Linked DNA regions of Homo sapiens: region 2 is linked to region 1. Evidence: promoter capture Hi-C in 16 types of primary human blood cells and fetal thymus (Javierre and others, 2016). All regions are on one chromosome and are shown on one strand. Each heading gives the region's core, a stretch centred on a gene start or on the middle of the fragment in contact. The rest is flanking DNA. Distances are from core to core; before and after follow the strand shown. Region 1 holds the start of ARIH1 (ariadne RBR E3 ubiquitin protein ligase 1). Region 2 holds the start of NPTN (neuroplastin).

Region 1 (3,454 bases), core at 471-2,970:
TATGTTTCCTTCCAGGTTTTCTAAAAATTGCACTGAATCAAGCTTCATTTTTATTCTTCAGCCATATCCCTGACTCCTCAGGAGAACTGAGGTTTTTTTTTTCCCCAAATGAAAACTTTTGAGTTTCTAAAGCTCAAAAATGCAAAATCTGACGCACATGGTTAAATGAGATGTGGTTATCAACTTACACCAAGCCTAACTTACCACAAAATAGAAAATATCAGAGAAAGGAGTTCACAAGCAGAAAACCTCTGCTTTCTAACTCACAATAGAGTCTTGTCCAATATTAGACAACACTGCGTTTTGTTGTTGTTTTAGCTACAAGGAAGGGTATGCAATATGCAGTAACTATTCCAACAGCTTCAAGCAAGTCATCTGCTACGACTAGAAAAAGTAGCAATTAGGTCCCAAACAGCAAAGACATAAAAAAGATGTAAGCAGAAGCCTCACCATCTGAAAAGAAGGCCCATCAGCACCTCTTCCGAGAAATACTTCCCTTCCCCCACCTTTAAGTAGGCACTTGAGACTGCCAAGATCCATTTCTTTATTAACTGGTGCCCACTTGGGGCAACTGTACACCAAGCTGCTCTTAGGCCTACTCTAATCCCTTCCAAAAGTGCTCAAATGAGGCTACGGCCGGGGTAAGTCCCGTCAGGGCCCAATTCTTCCTGACTCCTCTTCTCCACCCCACCTCCTCCGCCCCGCCCCAGTAGGCGATCGCCCGGCCAGAGAAAGGACACCCGGCCCAGGGACTGGCAGAAATTGCCCGCAAGAGAAGGCTTAGGCGACCGAAGGCCTCCGCCATAGCAGGACTTGGGAAGCACCGCCCCCAGCGCACCTCCCCACACCCGGCTAATCGGCGAACCTCTGCTTTCGACACCCTCTATCCCCAGCAGAGGCAGCGGAGAAGACAAGGCCGGGAGGCACCGGGCTAGGCTGCGCACCAGGCCCAGGCCTGTCCCTCGGGACCGCGCGTGCCGCCTGAATCCGCTCCCCCGTCGGGCCCGGTCCAGCTGGCGCGGCGGCCACCCTCACCTGGATGACCTCGTTGACCTCCCGGATACATTCCACCATGTGTTGTAGAATCTGCTCGGCCGTGAGCACCTCGTAGCGGTAATCCTCCTCCTGCTCATGCCCCGGCCCGCCACCACCACCGCCGCCGCCGCCGCCGCCGCCACCGCCGGGCCCCAGAGCGCTGCCGCCGCCACCGCCCGTCTCCCCGCACAGCAGTCCGTCCCGCTCCCCGCCGACGCCCAGCCCGGGCTCCACCAGCTCCACCTCGCCCAGATCCAGGGTATCATCGTCCGGCTCGTCGTCGTCTTCGTCCTCCTCCTCCTCGGCGCCGCTGTCCTCCTCACTGCACTCCTCGTCCTCGTCGAACTCGTAGTTGTAGCCCTCGTCCGAGTCCATGGCGCGACGCGCGGGGGCCCGGCGGACGCTGGCCGAGGCGGGGAGAGGGCGGGGACGCCGAGGCCCCGGCTCTCGCTCCGGCTCCGGCTGATGTCCGGACGCAGGCCTGGCTCCGGCCCCGCGAGCCGCGGCTCCTCCCCAGGAGCGGCGGTTGGCGTTTGACGGCTGGTGGCGGCGGGGAGGGCGCGGAGGAGGGAGGGAGGGAGCGAGGGGGCCGCTTGCTGCCCGCCTCAGTCAGACGCGGCTCCGCTCCGGCCTCCGAGAGAAAACAGTCCCCAACGCCACCTCCACGGCCGCTGCTATCGCTACTGAGCCAACAAAGGGGCGTGCGTCACCGCGTCGCGCTGCGTCGTCGCGTCACTCCTCTTTGCGTCACTGCGCCCCGCCCCACCGCCCCTGCGTGGAGCCCGGGGAGACCCCACGGCCCGGCCTTCCTGGGCCTGGGACCCGAGGGGAGCCGAGCGGGAATTGCTTTCCTGGTTCGATCCGCTGCCGCTGTGAGGGCCGAGCGGAAACCCGTAGACCTTTTATGTGAAGAGATTGCGGCCTCCTGGTCACCAGTCACCGAGAGAGGGACCCCTGGACCGCCTACGTGGTGGTGTCTGCCGCAGGCCATAGGGATCCAGCCCACTTAGGCAGTCCCTTGGGGACGCGGCCTTCCCTCCGGAGCGGAAAGGCGCTTCCCGCCCGCCCTGCGGTAATCCCGGAAGCCCTCAGCCGTTAAGCTAAAATTTCTGTTGCTTTGGCTACTGATGGAAACCTGTTGTAAGTGGAACCTCTAAACTGTATGACAGGTGAACCCACTTTAGGTAGCTGTGTGATTCTGTCCACTTGTACAGACGTGCAGTGGTTTTTAAGTCTCCTATAATGACGTCATTTTAAAGAGGCATTTCCTCCACCCCGCTGACAAGAGCGCCTCTTGAGGGCCCTAAACAATGTAAACAGCGATGATTTTCATGAATTGAGCACTGTGTAAGGGCTTTACATATATTCTGTCTCATCTTCACGGAGCCATAGTACCCATTTTATACCTGAGGAACCTGAAGCTCAGAAAGGAAAAGGGACCTGGCCAAGACCACATAACCCTTGCCCTATTTTAACCGCTGGATGCCCCAAAACATGAATCATAAAAATGCTTTGTAATGTAGATATATTATGTACTATGTAGTACATAAAAGACATGAATGCTTCAACAAAATACAGGCAATAATAGAAATATCTACAAGGGCCAAATGTAGCCAGAGAGATAATGCTTGAATCTCATCTGAAAGTGTGCTATGTGAGCTGAGTGTTGATGAATGGCTAGGAGTTCAACAGAGAAGGTAGGGAAGATGGTCTAGCCGCAGAGAACAAGCAAAAGCGCAGAAGGTGTCAAGTAAGTAATAGTTTGGGGAGCTTAAAGTGCATGGAGGGTACATGGCAAAATATTAGGCAAGTTAGTCAGGGGTCATGTCAGTTAAGAGCATTTTATGCCTAAGAGTGGGCTTAAATCTTTGCAAACAGGACATGCGAGCCAGAGAAGTGTTATGAAGGAAGAAGAGGCATAAGAAGGCTCCCTCTTGAGATAATCTGAAGAATTGGCCAGATTGAAAACCTTTTAAAATCAAAACCCCTGATTTGTTGATAAATCTTACTGTTCAACCTATAGGTTCCCTTTGGAAATTGATTTTGAAAAGTGAAAAATTCCATTATAATGTTAAAAAGCCTCTTCCAATTTGTCCATTTTGTAAGTTTTAAAATACCGATAATTATATTTCTTAACCTCAGGATTTACAAAGTAAAGCATTTAACCTCAATACTGGTAGTCTAGGTTTTTGTTGTTGTTGTTGTTGTTTGTTTTTTTCTTGAGACGGAGTCTCGCTCTGTTGCCCAGATTGGAGTACAGTGGTGATCTCAGCTCACTGCAGCCTCTGCCTCCCAGGTTCAAGCGATTCTCCTGTCTCAGCCTCCTGAGTAGCTGGGACTACAGGCGCATGCCACCACCCCAGGCTAATTTTTGTATTTTTAGTAGAGATGGGGTTTCACCATATTGGCCAGGCTGGTC
Region 2 (3,454 bases), core at 394-2,893, 1.2 Mb before region 1:
AAGGGGACAAGAAAATGCACTTCTACCATGAGTCTATTAACAAGCAAACCAGATTGTTGGCATTAATGATTAATACAAACATTCTGAGAGCTGGAGCCGTTCGTGTCCTCCTTTGGCTTCAGCTTCCCTATCCACAAAAAGACCATGATCATTTTGTAAGAATCTCTTGTTGTAAGGATCAAAGAGCCACATTTGTTACAGCTATAATGAGGCAGAATGGTTGCATCCAACCAAAGCTTCCATCAGCTGAAAATCTTGATCCCACCACAGGCAGCCCTGTAGCCCTCCTTACTGGGCTGTCTGCAGAATGGCCTTTGTCCAGATGAAGGTACATGCCAATCTTTTTGTCACTCACACACCTGAGGTTTTGAAGGACATAGTTTTCACTTCAATCAACAACATGCCATAGTGGTCCTGGCCTTTGCTAGAAATTTTGGTCTGGAACCACCAGCTGTTCAGTTCCTGTTGAAAGTTCCAGACCACTTTAGCTTGATAGAGATTGCGAGGGTCTCCTTCTTCCAGGTCCTCCAAACCCTCTCTTTAAATCAAGTCAGGCCACCAGGACTGTTTACTTGGCCCCTCAGAGTTTCCACAGACACTCCCAGGACGTCTGCTGTGAGTCAGGGATGAGCTAAGCCATAGAAATTCCTTTGCCAACCACAAGCCCTGAGGGTAGTACAAAAAATACCCCTAAAAAGAGCATTTCCCAAACTTCTATGCAAACAGTAGTAACCACACTGCCAATCACCCTCCAGAGTGCTTTGCTAGATCCTTTCCTATGGGGCCATTTGACCCTTCCTCACTCCTCTGCTAGCCTAGGCAGTGCACTCCATGAGGACGGGGACTACCTTTTCATGTGGGTTTCACTATGTGCCTGGCACACAGCACGTTCTCAATAAATGTTTTCCGCATTAAGACGCTTCTTAGGAGTCTTCATGTAAGTTCATACACGACTTCCTTGTAGAATTGTGTCAATGAACATGCAATTAGGCTAGCTGAACTTCAGGCCCTGAGAGTCTATGAAGCTAAAATAAGGCCCAGATGTGGGGTGGGAGGGGGAGTAGGCAGAGGCGGCAAAGGAGGACATTTCAGGCAAAGGGAGCAGATGTCCAGGCAGGAAAGCACAAGGTAACGGGGGCACAGGGGGCGCACCACTTTTCCTGGAAGGAAAAAACAGCAGATGAGAGAAGGAGGTTGGAGCCAGTTACCAGTAGAGGTCTATGTTCAAAGTCCAGAAGGAAGAAACAGCAGGACGGGGACAAAGAGAGGAAGGAGGAAAGGAGGCACGGTGTATGAAACTCTGTAGCCAAGAGCGCTAACAAATGAAAGGCAGGATGGGTGGAGGAAATGTACTGTGTTCCAAAGCTTCCTCTTATTTATGGGTGCTCCCGGGCCACAGAGGAGTAAACTGAAGGACTTCCCAGCTCCCCACTGCCCAGAGAGCTAGCGGAGTCCCGCCTCGCCCCGTCACATGGCCAGAGGCGCCCTCGGCACGTGACCTACCTCGCGCTAGGCCAATCAGCCTCTGCAGGGGCGGGGCCACCGAGTCCGCGGGGCGGGAGTCTCCGTCGGAGCCGCCTCTTCTCGCGATCCTTGCGGCGGTCGCTCCTCAGCCGCCCACGACCCGGAGCGAAGGTCTCGCGAGGCCTGGGCGCTGCGGCGGCAGGAGGAGGACGGGGAAGGACGGAGCCGAGCCGCGGCTGCCTCCCTCGCTCACTCCCTCGCGCACTCGCCCGCCCCCTCCCTCCCTCCCCTCCCTTCCCCGGCCCCGGCTCTGGCCCCGGCCCATTCGCTGTTGGGTCTTCTGCTAGGGAGGATGTCGGGTTCGTCGCTGCCCAGCGCCCTGGCCCTCTCGCTGTTGCTGGTCTCTGGCTCCCTCCTCCCAGGGCCAGGCGCCGCTCAGAACGGTAAGCGGGGCGCCGGGGGCGGGCCGGGCGGGGGTTGAGGGGCGCCGGGGCCGGAGGGGGCCCGGCTCTGGCCTGAGGAGACGCTGGAGCTCGGGGAAGGGGGCCGAGTGGGCGTCTGAGGGGCTGCGGGTCCGAGAGGAGGTACCGGCTGCGGGTTTGAGGAGGCGCGGGTGTGAGGACCGGAGGCTCCTATCCGAGCGGCGGGGGCGTCCGGGGTGAGCCCGAGGTGTTGCCCACTCGGAGGCTCCACGTCGTGGGGCTCGTCGTGCCGGGTCGGCGAGGGGACACGGAGGAAGCCGACGTGGGGAGCTGGAGTAGCGGGGGCGGATGAGGAGGGGGCGCAGCTCTTAGGGAGGGTGGCACAAGACCGGCGTTTGTGTTCCGGGCGACGGGGATGGTGGTGTCCGTCAGGCCCCCCGGGAGCTGGGGTCGTCCAGGATTCTACTGAGGCCCCGTAGGACTGGTGACATCCTTAAAAATAAGGGGGAAATTGGGGGGAAGAGAGTCCTGAGGAACACTAATGGTGAGCTGAGTACTAGAGACCAAAGGAGGGGGTAAAGAATCAGGGAACCTTGGATCTAGGGATAGAGGGAAGGTGGGTGGGAAGATGAGGGAGTGGGTTGACTGCAGTAGGGGACCTGGAGAGAGAAGCAGCAGTGTCTCCAAATGAGCTGGGGGAAGAGGGCTGGGTTTGCTAAAGAGGGTGGAGTGCTGGGCATTCTAGGGTAGTGGTTGGGAGAGCAAAAAGGAGTTTCTAAATAAGGAGAGGAAAATGAGCAGAGGATGGAGGGAAAGGGTTGGAACTGAGGTGGGGGAATATTTATTAGAGAAGTAAGGAGGCCTGGGTATAGAGATGGGGGTGGGGGAAGACGAAAAATAAGGGAAGGGAGTAAAATGCAGGAAGTCGGGGGTGTAATGTTGGTTTGCAGTGTGGAGGATAAATTAGGGAAGGGAGGAGTTGGGATGTGGCAAATGCTGTATGATATTGGTCGGGCCTTTGGGAAAACAGGGACACATAGCTGCAACTAATTGCAGTGGTGGGATTGAGGGCAGTGACTGGCGACAGGGAGATGGGGAAGTGGATTTTTGAGATTTAAAAGTTTCAAGACAGAAGAGACGTTATTTCCGAGGAACATGAAAGTGGCCCCTGGGAGGTGGTACAGTAGAAAGCAGAGAATTACTGGGTTTTGAATTGAAGCTCCTTTGAGAAGATGGAGAAGTGGTGGGGAATCATGGGCATAGGGACCTAAACAGAGCAGATTCTGATTGAAGACATGTGTTAGCATTCAGCTGCTGAATTGATCTTTCACAAGTGAGTCTAGGATTGTGAACCTGTTTCTGCCCTTGTGGAAACAGCCATTAAGAGGTTAAAGAATATTTTTTCTGTGAAGGAATTTATGAGAAGTCAGTACTGGAGAGTGAACTATAAATTATTTTTGCTAATCTTTCATTGTTTATTGTTAGGCCAGAACAATTTATGATTACTCTTATTAGAGAGGCTGCAATTTAAATTTTAAAAAATCAGTGATAGAGCCAGTGGAGTTTTT

The links. Contacts are between HindIII fragments. The CHiCAGO score rates a contact against its expected background, and 5 or more counts as called.
Region 2: the fragment with the promoter of NPTN here is called in contact with the fragment with the promoter of ARIH1 in region 1 in 1 of 17 cell types (monocytes); the score reaches 5.2 in monocytes.

The regions. Positions count from the first base shown.
Region 1 is chr15:72,472,596-72,476,049 of GRCh38, reverse strand. ARIH1 (ariadne RBR E3 ubiquitin protein ligase 1) reads right to left here and starts at 1,720. Exons shown (of 14, transcript NM_005744.5): 1 at 1,036-1,720. The coding sequence starts at 1,410. It overlaps TMEM202-AS1 (TMEM202 antisense RNA 1), which reads left to right and starts at 1,811. Exons shown (of 4, transcript NR_135678.1): 1 at 1,811-2,175. RefSeq lists enhancers at 597-806, 2,257-2,356 and silencers at 1,357-1,586, 1,629-1,825, 1,677-2,016. The HindIII fragment of the contact is 10,721 bases long and covers 45-3,454 here.
Region 2 is chr15:73,631,578-73,635,031 of GRCh38, reverse strand. NPTN (neuroplastin) reads left to right here and starts at 1,643. Exons shown (of 9, transcript NM_012428.4): 1 at 1,643-1,907. The coding sequence starts at 1,817. RefSeq lists silencers at 1,487-1,786, 1,867-2,126. The HindIII fragment of the contact is 2,824 bases long and covers 1,368-3,454 here.